Linked DNA regions of Homo sapiens: region 1 is linked to region 2. The links are contacts of gene promoters, found by promoter capture Hi-C in blood cells and fetal thymus (Javierre and others, 2016). All regions are on one chromosome and are shown on one strand. The core of a region is centred on a gene start or on the middle of the fragment in contact, and the rest is flanking DNA. Distances in the headings are between cores, read along the strand shown. Region 1 overlaps DDX18 (DEAD-box helicase 18). Region 2 holds the start of PTPN18 (protein tyrosine phosphatase non-receptor type 18).

The links. The method cuts DNA at HindIII sites, captures the fragments that hold promoters and counts their contacts. A CHiCAGO score of 5 or more calls a contact.
Region 1: a contact is called between a fragment that was not itself captured here and the fragment with the promoter of PTPN18 in region 2, in 1 of 17 cell types (naive CD8 T cells). The highest score is 5.7, in naive CD8 T cells.

What each region holds. Positions count from the first base shown.
Region 1 is chr2:117,819,940-117,825,314 of GRCh38, forward strand. DDX18 (DEAD-box helicase 18) reads left to right here. Exons shown (of 14, transcript NM_006773.4): 4 at 1,222-1,357; 5 at 1,711-1,811; 6 at 1,923-2,122; 7 at 2,208-2,322; 8 at 4,630-4,769; 9 at 5,001-5,162. Among named protein-coding and RNA genes, the nearest start is that of DDX18, 7.9 kb to the left of the region's middle. RefSeq lists silencers at 645-694, 705-774. The HindIII fragment of the contact is 245 bases long and covers 1,129-1,373 here.
Region 2 is chr2:130,352,318-130,357,601 of GRCh38, forward strand. PTPN18 (protein tyrosine phosphatase non-receptor type 18) reads left to right here and starts at 3,739. Exons shown (of 15, transcript NM_014369.4): 1 at 3,739-3,883. The coding sequence starts at 3,791. RefSeq lists silencers at 3,319-3,988, 4,129-4,178. The HindIII fragment of the contact is 15,291 bases long and covers 2,004-5,284 here.

The sequences.
Region 1 (5,375 bases), core at 1-2,500, about 13 Mb before region 2:
TTTTCTCTTTATCTTCTATTTTGTGGTGTTTTAGTTCTTTTTGTTCCCTGTTTTTTTCCTTTTGTTCATTCCTGACACCAAATATTTTATATGCACACTAGCAGCTTCTAGGATTCCTTGGTTTGTCCTTTTCTGAGTCTCATTCTATGTTGTAATAGGAAAATGATTGGCCCTGTACGAGGTTAACCTCCTTTGGCCTTTGTTCCTTTATAAAGTTGAGTTTAGGCTAGAATTCACTGCTCCTAACCAGATATGTCTAGGAGTTACTTGAGTTGTTTATTTGGTTTGGGTTGGTTGGTTTGTTAAAATGTTGAGGCCCAACCCTAGACCTGCTTAATCCAAATTGCAAACGTTTTGGTAGTAGCTCTCGAGCAGGGAAATTCGCCCCCCGAGTAAGAAGAGTAACTCTTCCTGGTTTGCCCAGAACTTTAACAGTTTTAGCACTGAAAGTTCTGAATCCCAAGAATCTCCTCTGTCCCTAGCCTACTGAGAAGATTGGTCATCCTAAGCCTAGGAGACATTTTTGGTTCTCAGAGCTAGGAGCAGTCTGCTGGGATCTGGTGAGTAGAGGTCAGAAACACTGCATAATATCTTATAAGGCACAGGATAGTGTTTCACAGCAAAGAATTATTCAGCCCAGATGTCAGCAATGCCAAGGTCAAGAGTGATTGGTTTACACCCTGGGCATGTGGAGTATGGGGAACCCCCAGGTGATTTTGATGCCTTCTGCTGAACCACCACTGTATTACTTGATACGTAGGCTCAGCCTAACATTCTGTGGCTGTATCTGACTCTTCTGTGTCTTGTTGGAGTGAGATTAACAGGTTTTTTTTTTATTATTGACTTCACACTCAGTTTTTATTAATGCTCAATGTTTTCACTTTTATATCAGATTTCTTAAACATTTCATTTATCTCTGGACTCTCATTATTTTCCTTGTTTTGGTATTTTTATTTTATATAAATTCCTTGGTTATACCTCCTCTCTACCCCTTGTTTTGTTATAGTATGGTCTCTGGACTATAACTCACACAGCCGTTAACAGTGGAGAAACTTGAAAGATATAGGGTCTTTTTCTTGATATTATCACATATGAATAATTAAGGTTTAGCCTTTTCTTACTGCGGGAAGCTTTTCTAAGCAAAATAGATTTAGGCAACTGTAGCAATACTTTTTTAAAAAAAAAGATAAATTTGCTAATGATAAATTGTCTTCTGTTTAGGAGCTTTTGAGGATACTTCGTTTGCTTCTCTATGTAATCTTGTCAATGAAAACACTCTGAAGGCAATAAAAGAAATGGGTTTTACAAACATGACTGAAATTCAGCATAAAAGTATCAGACCACTTCTGGAAGGCAGGTATGATTAACATTGAAGCTTAGATATTGGCATCTATTTTTAGAACTAGTAGATGATAAAGAACATACCAGTATATTCTGTTGATTTTGTACTATATGTTGGGTCATGTATCCAGCATACATTAAAGGCTTTAAGTTAATTACTGATGTTTGAAGGAAAGTGTTCGAAAGGTGTTCTGCTTCTGTTGTAGCACAGTTCTGACTTATGATTTCAGTATATAACCCAGGTGATCAATTTCAGCACTGTAGACGTTTCTTGTTCATGTTCTAGCCGTAGTGCCTAAGGTGTGTGTATGTAGTACGTCGTAAATGAGTAGGCTAAATGTCTTTCTCCTTTCCCTTTTTAATATTTAGGGATCTTCTAGCAGCTGCAAAAACAGGCAGTGGTAAAACCCTGGCTTTTCTCATCCCTGCAGTTGAACTCATTGTTAAGTTAAGGTTCATGCCCAGGAATGGTAAGCGTTCATCTGCTTGTTTCTGCCATTATTTCACTAGAGGTTTATTGTAGCTGTTACGGACTCAGTGGTGACAGCCACATTTAGACTTCTACCATATATCATTTTTAGGAACAGGAGTCCTTATTCTCTCACCTACTAGAGAACTAGCCATGCAAACCTTTGGTGTTCTTAAGGAGCTGATGACTCACCACGTGCATACCTATGGCTTGATAATGGGTGGCAGTAACAGATCTGCTGAAGCACAGAAACTTGGTAATGGGATCAACATCATTGTGGCCACACCAGGCCGTCTGCTGGACCATATGCAGGTAAGAGATGTAGTGCTTGTCTCATTGTCTTGTATGAAACATAAACTGACAACTAATGGTTGTTCTTTGTCCTTTGTTTTGTTAGAATACCCCAGGATTTATGTATAAAAACCTGCAGTGTCTGGTTATTGATGAAGCTGATCGTATCTTGGATGTGGGGTTTGAAGAGGAATTAAAGCAAATTATTAAACTTTTGCCAAGTAAGTAGGTAGCATCTGCATTTGGTTTGCAAAGTATCTGTTGGAGGTAGATAAGAGTTGTTCCTATAGAAAAACTGTACTAATGCCAGAACTTTACCATAGCCAAGTGAGGTAGTTGTGCCAATTAACCCGAAAGGTAATTTGGAATACAAGCATCAAATGTATTATAACTTGATATAATAGTTTTGCTGTTTTAGAAGTTATAAGGCACGTTAAGCAGTCTTCACATAGGTCCTGTCCTCCACCTCTTGCCCATTCTTACCTCATCTAACATCCCCCAAGAAGCCGCAGATTTTTTGCCTTACTTGTACATACCTTGGTTATAGTACTTGCAACATTATGAACTGGTTATAACTAAGACCATGGTTTCCTTCATTATATAATTTATTTTTAAAAGCTTTGTCAAAGTATAATTATATCTACCCATTTATAATGTACAATTTGATGTTCTTTGATTTGTTTACCACTGTGACATCATCGCTGCAATCAAGAAAATGAACATGTCCATCACAGTCAAAGGTTTCCTCCTGCCCCTTTTCAATTTCTCCCTCCCACCCCTCCTTACACGTATACCTTGTCCCCAGGTGAGTATTGATCTGTTTTCTGCTGCTAGATTAGGTTGCATTTTCTGGAAATAAAGTTGCTGTGAACAGTCATCTACAACTCTTTGTAGAGGCATATATCTCCTTTTCTCTTAAGTAAACCTAGGAGTGTCCTAGTTGGTATATGTTTAGTGTATGTTTAACTTTTTAAAAAACTGCCAGATGTTTTCCAAAGCGGCTGTACCATTTAACATTCCTATGAGCAGTGTATGAAAGTTCCAGTTCCTCCTATTAAGTCTTGACCATCAGGTAATGTTAGCCCCAAGTTTGTTCTCTTTTAAAGTTGTGGTATTCTTGTCCTTTGCTTTTCTATATAAATTTTAGAATTGGTTTGTCAGTTTCTCCCCCTTCCCTCCAAAAAAGTCTCAGATCTTGACTGAGATTTTATTGAATAGAGATTATTGGAGGAAGACAGTATTGAGTCATGTAACCCATAATAAGGTATATCTCCATGTATTCGATATTTTCTCTATCATATTTAGGGGGGTTCGGGATACAGGTTTATTCACATCTTTTGTCAGATTTATCTCTGAGTGTTTCATTAAAATTTCAAGTTCCAATTGCTCGTTGCTTTAATATATACATATATACACACACACATATACACACATATATATGCACACACAGTTGAATTTTATATTGATCTTGTATCTAGCAAGACAGTTAATCCTGTACCGAATGATTATTCAGTATGACTTTCCAGATGACTGTAGCCTTTTGGATTTTCTATATAGGCAATCATGTGCAGATAAAGACAGTTTCACCTCTTTATTTAATTTTTTTTTCCTGCCTGATTGCCCTGGCCAGAACCTCCAGTATGGTGCTGAATAGAAGTGGTGAGAGCAGACATCCTTATCTTGGTTCTGATCTTAGGGGAAAGCATTCAGTCTTTTACCATTAACTACATATGAAGTTAGCTGCAGGTTTTATATAGATGCCTTTTATCAGATTGAGGAAGATCCCTTCTGTTCCTAGTTTGCTGAGGATTTTTAATCAGAAATAGATGGTCAAATGTTTTTTTTCTGTCTGCTGAAATAATCATGTTTTTTCTTTAGTTAACATAGTGAATTGTATTGGTTGATTTTTCAAATGTTGAACCAACCTGCATTTCTAGAATAAACCTGATCCATTTCTAGAATAAACATGAGCCATTATCCTTTTTATATATTGCTGAATTCACTTTACTAAAATTCTATTTCAAATTTTGTATATGTGCTCACGAATTGTATTGGTCCATAGTTTTCTTGTCATGTCATGTCAGGTTTTTGTATAGTGTAATGACTGACTTCGAAGAATGAGTTGACATGTAAGCCCTCTTTTTAATTTATTGGAGAGTTTGTGAATAATTGATGTTTTTTTCTTAAATGTTCAGTAGAATTCACCAATGGAATCCATTTGGGCCTGGAATTTTCTTTACATGAAGGTTATAACTAAAATTTCTTTAGTAGATATAAGGCTATTTAAAGTTTTCCTATTTTCTTCAGTTGTTTGTCTTCAAAGGAGTTTGTCCATTTCATCTAAGTCCTCAAATTTATAGACCTAGTGTTTCATGATATACCCTTTTTACCTTTTGTAATATTTGTAGATTCTGTAGAAACATCATATCTCCCATTTCTGATATCTCTACCTAGAATATTTGTAGTTGTGAGGCAATTGTAAAGATTCCCTAAAAGATTGGGGTTATTTTTATATGTATCTGTTTCAGCACGTAGACAGACTATGCTCTTTTCTGCCACCCAAACTCGAAAAGTTGAAGACCTGGCAAGGATTTCTCTGAAAAAGGAGCCATTGTATGTTGGCGTTGATGATGATAAAGCGAATGCAACAGTGGATGGTCTTGAACAGGTACTTTTTATCAATAACTGAAAACTGTAGGGATCTTACTTGGTGTTTTTATGTAATTGTTGGAAGGATCATTCAGAAAGCAAATGGGTTAATGAACTTTTAAAATGCTGTAGGTGAGGCATGACAGTTTACACACTGTGTTTATCAGTGCTCTTGATGAAATTACACAAGTTAGGAAATGGAAAATGTCCACTTGGTTCATTTGTATCTGTCTGCTTAAACGCTTTCTAGGGATATGTTGTTTGTCCTTCTGAAAAGAGATTCCTTCTGCTCTTTACATTCCTTAAGAAGAACCGAAAGAAGAAGCTTATGGTCTTCTTTTCATCTTGTATGTCTGTGAAATACCACTATGAGTTGCTGAACTACATTGATTTGCCCGTCTTGGCCATTCATGTAAGTGATGATGATGAGCTCATTGAAAACAGGGTATGCTTATTAAATCCTATAGATTGTAGGATTGGAGGTATTGCCCTCTCCTGGAAACATTGTTCTGAGTAGTTTGATCACCACTAGATGATGGATCCTGTGTGGGGGAGCGCTGCTGGGTGTGGAGGGGTATGAGGACTTTCGAAGAGTGCAAGACACCATCCTCCTTGAGGGGCTTGC
Region 2 (5,284 bases), core at 2,489-4,988:
GAGGAGTCTTTGATTCAGAACACTGAAACCTGGCACGCCTGAGGAGAGTTAGAGGAGACAGGAACAAAAGCTCTCCCAGAGGACTTAGAGCTCTCAGGCATCGGACGGGAGGGGGACACAGCCACATGCTTCCTCTTGCACTGAAGAGGGTTGCCTTTTTCCTGTTTGCTAAATGCCAGACTTGTGGATGGACCAACAGGACAACTTGCCCAGCTTGAAGGTTTTTAACAGAATGAAGCAATGGGAAAATGTTTTCAAATTTATGCCCCCCCTTCCACTTTTGTTTTAACTTAGAGGAGGGAGTAAGGAGGTGGGCGTGGCAATATCAGAAAGGGAAACTAGCAGTGTAATAATAATATTAATAGTACCAAGTGTATACTGCAAGCCAAGTGCTGTTCTATCTAAATGCTTTATATACAATGATTTCCTTAAATTCTCACAATAAAGCAACAAGAAGAGACACAGTCCTACAGAGGAGGAAATTGAGACATAGAAATTAAATGACTTGCCCAAGGTCATACTGAGAAAGTCATGGTGCCAGAATTCTAACTCAAACATTTTGGTTCCAGTCTTCTGCCCTTTTTTTATTTTTATTTATTGATTTTTTTTTTTTGAGGCGGAGTCTTGCTCTGTCGCCCAGGCTGGAGTGCAGTGGCACAATCTCGGCTCACTGCAAGCTCCGCCTCCCGGGTTCAAGCCATTCTCCTGCCTCAGCCTCCCGAGCAGCTGGGACTACAGGTGCCCGCCACCACGCCCGGCTAATTTTTTGTACTTTTAATAGAGAACGGGGTTTCACTGTGTTAGCCAGGATGGTCTCTGCCCTTTTTTAACTAAGCAAAAAAGGAAGCTGGAGAAGAACTGTACCCTGGAGATGCCAGCAGTCTCCAAGGAGCTCCCCGCAAGCATCCCAGAGGAAGGGGTGTCTGCCAGGGGTCTCCACTGTAGTTTCTCTTTTCCCCTTTGCAGGCTCAGAGCAGGCTGAACTCACAGCCTTGTGCACCTGTCCCTGTGCATCTTCCTCTACCTTGTCCTCTTGGCTCTGTTGAGCGGCCCATGTAGCCACACTGACTGGTGGGCAGGTGACAGACTGGCACATGGCACGTGGGCTTTGGTACACTTGGGGTCTCTGTAGCAGTGCCAGCAGCTCCCACTGTGCAAGACTGCTGCTGGCAGCGTGAACAGGAGGGCCACCAGCAGCAGTGAGTCTCATTGCAAGAACACAGCTGGCAGTCCTCCGGGAGAGAAAAGCCGGGGTGGGCCAGGGCCTCTGGAAGATGTGGGGTCTTCCCATCCCCCACACCTAGCCTGAGCTGAACAGAGGGCAAGCTAAGAGTTTGGATGTTTGGAGAGACATGAGGAACGGTCAGGTGTCAGGAGGACAGGTGGGTTAAACAACAAGGTGGGGCTTGGAGTGAGGGTGAACACGAGGACAGAAAGACACTCAAGGCAGCTGGAAGTACAAATGGCAGACTACAGCCTCAGCCACTTAATGTTCACAGGCCACAAGGCAGCATCTGGCTAGTCACTCAGATCCTCTAATAGACAAACCACCAAACACACACACACACACACACACACACACACACCCTGGCTGGACAGACTTCCAGATGGACAGAATCCCAGGGAAACACCCAGCTGGACAAACAGACAGATTACTGACAGATGGGTAGACCCTCAGCCAGACATCCAAATAGGCCTGTGGCCAGAGAGACACCTGGGCCCCCCAGCCAGGCAAAGGTCAGAATCCCTCAAGGACAGGTGCCCTCCCCAAAATGGACAGAGACATTACCCCAGAGGAGAGAACACCCCACCCACCTAGTCAACCAGACCTTCAGCTGGACGACATGCCCTCCACCAGTCAGACAGACCTCAGCCTATGAGGACAGGCCCTCAACAGGATCCCTGCTGCTGGACAGAGATCCTCTAGCCCATAAAGACTGCCCTGAATAACCATGTGTGCTCAGGGGCTCACATTTTCCCAGAAAATGTCTTTATTTTCTGAAAGCTTACTGATGCTTCTGTATTCTACCTCCCTGGATCTCCATGGCCATCCACAAACCCTCAATGATTATACTGAGAGTCACTATCATGCACTGAGCAGAGCTCTCAATGACTTCCCAGACTCTTCGGACCCTTCAATTACTAACACTCCAAATCCCAATGGCCCCACAATTACTTTCACTTCTTGTCCCAAGTATCCACTGGCCTCCCAATGACTGTCATTAATATCTACTGACACCCCCCCCCCCATGAACATCCAAGGGACCCCGACTGGCTTCCAATGAATTCCCTATCACCACCATCCTAAACAATTACCTCCCTGAGAATGCTCAAAGATGAAACTGATAAATGATGAACATGAATCTCACAGTGACCCCTGCGGACCCCACGATAAATCAAACAGCCCTAGCTGCTGATCCCCACAGAGCCACTTTGATCGCTCCATCACTTCAGCCAAGGTCAGCAAACGACAGCCTGTAGGCCACACACACACACTAGAATAATTCATGACACATGAACATTACATGAAATTCTGATTTCTTTGTCCATAAATGGTTTCTTTGGGACACAGCCACACTATATTGTCTGCTTTCATGCTGCCACAGCTGAGTTAAGCAGCTGGGGCAGCGATAGCAAAGCCAAAACCACTTCCTACCGGGACCTTTAAGAAAGTGTGCCCTTAAATACTCTGATAGCCCCTAGTGAATTAAATTGACCACCTGACATCATGCCCCTGTTGACCCTTCAGAGACTCAGGCACACATCCAGGCCCCAATGCTACCTTTCAACCCCTCAACGACCTCAAACTGGTGTCCACTGACGCCCCTTCCAGTGACACCCCTCTTAATTCTTCCGACCTCGGCGAGAAGGGGGCTAACCTAGGCCTGTCCTTGAAGAGACCCAGGTGCCAGTCCATTCTCTCCAGCCTCCCCTCGGTGATCCCGGAAGCTGGAACGGCGGCTCTCCTCTGACCTCTGCACACTTTCTGAAGATGGGAGTGTCAGGGCAGGCAAAAAAGAGAAGCTCTTCGTTCCCCAGAACCCACTTCCAGTGCCTCAGTTCTGTTTCCCAGCAGGCTTGTGCAGGTCGAGATGCTCACACAGGACTGACCCTGGTGCCCCAGCGCATCCGGGAAAAAGGAACCACAAATTCCTCGGGAAATACACAGAGAAGATCCCGCTGCCACTTGGCCTTTCCCACGGCGTGGCTGCCCCTCCCCGGCCTCCCTTGGGCCCGGCTGGAGCGCACAGCGCGGGACGCCCCCGACCCGGGGTCCTCTGGCACGAGGGGCAGCCTGATCTCGGCGACCGTCTCCACCCAAGGCTGCTGCCCGCCCCAGCTCGGACTCCGCGCGGCCTGGCTCCCAGGGGACGGGCGGGAGGGCCCGGCGAGACCGCTCGGCCGTCCACCCAGAGCCGGCACCCGGAGGTCGGCCCCTGGGCGCGGATCCCGATCTGAGGGCGGGTCCCAAGCGGCAGGGAGCGAACCTGGGACCGTGCCACCCCCCCACCAGTGGGCGCGGCAGCCGAAAAAAAGGGGAAGCGCCGGCGCTGGACTCTGCTCAGGGCAGCCCGCGAGGACCTAGGGCTCCGGCCACAGCGGCCCGAGCGCCCGGGGTGGGGCTACGCGGGCTCAGAACACGGTGGCTGGGGCGCCCTGCCCGCCGCTGCGCGCTTCCATTGGCTGCCGAGGCAAGGGCGGGGACTCAGTCACCGGCCTCCGCCTCCCGCGGCGTCCACACTCGCCGCGCGCGCGGCGGCCGGGCTGGACCTTGCTGGCCCGCGGCGCCATGAGCCGCAGCCTGGACTCGGCGCGGAGCTTCCTGGAGCGGCTGGAAGCGCGGGGCGGCCGGGAGGGGGCAGTCCTCGCCGGCGAGTTCAGCGTGAGTGGCACACGGGGTCCGCGAGCGGCGCGCCCCGGCCCTGGCCCTGCGTACGCCTGTCCTCCGCGCACGGCGGGCTCTGCCTTTCTGTCTCGGTGTCCCCGGTGTCTCCCCGCCTCGGGGGGTCTCTCCGTGTTTCTCTCCCCAGCACTTCTCTGTCGCTCTTGCTGTCTCCGTCTTCACTCTCTGCCCCCCGGCCCCGGAGCGCGACGTCCACGGCCAGGCCGGGACGGACCGTGCACACCCTCGTTCCCGGTGTCCTCGTCGCGCTCCCGGAACAACCTGGCTGCGGGCGGGACAGGTGGGGCGGGCGCCGCAGGGGAGGGCGGGCGGCCCTGCTGCGCTGGACAGCCCCGGCCCCGCCGCTTCTGGCGACCTGACTGTCCCCTGTGACCACAGGAAGGAAGGGGCTGCAGCAGGGCGAAGAGGAACACGGAGGCTGTGGCGTGGTGAGGGTGTGAACGCCGGGCTCGAATCCGCGTCCGGGCCCGAATCCGCTTCCCGTCCCGAATCCGCGTCCCGGCCATCCGCGTGTGGTCCAGGCGGTCTACCTGGCCCCTCTGACCTCGGCTTCTCCCTTGGTGAAATGGGGACATGAATGACCAAACTGGTCTAAGGATTAAATGATGTGGGTGAAAAGCACTTAGTACATATTGGGCGCACACTTCGTAGGGGCGTTCGTCACTGCCTATAAAGATTCTAAACGTGGGCCAGGTGCGGTGGCTCACACCTGTAATCCCAGCACTTTGGGAGGCCGAGGTGGGAGGATCGCTTGAGCTCAGGAGTTCGAGACCAGCCTGGGCAACACAGCGAAACCCCGTCTCTACTAAAAATACAAAAATCAACTGGGCATGGGCGCATGCCTGTAATCCCAGCTACTAGGGAGCAGAGACAGGGGACTCGCTTGAACCTGGGAGGCAGAGGTTGCAGTGAGCTGAGATGGTTCCACTGCACAGCTGAGATGGTGCCACTGCACTCCAGCCTGGGCCACAGAGTGAGATCCCATCTCAAACAAAACAAAACCAAACAAAAAATCTAAACGTTACAATACAGGTAGTGCAAGCCCAGCATTAGGAAGGCTCACGCAGAATGCTAGGCACTGTACATTACAGTTGATGACGTGTTTAAAGTGTAATCGCTTATGTACCAGACATAGAAACATACCATACAAACGCATAAACTGATATATGGTGACATGTATCAAGTTTAGAAATATGACAAATATATAAAAGTATTATAAATGACCGTTTATACAATAAACATTGCATAACTGCATAAAACAATACAACAAATGAATATAACAAAGATTATAATTTATAAAATGACCAAAGTTATTTGATAAATTCATAAGTAGATATAAAATATGTAACAGATGGCCGGGCACGGTGGCTCACGCCTATA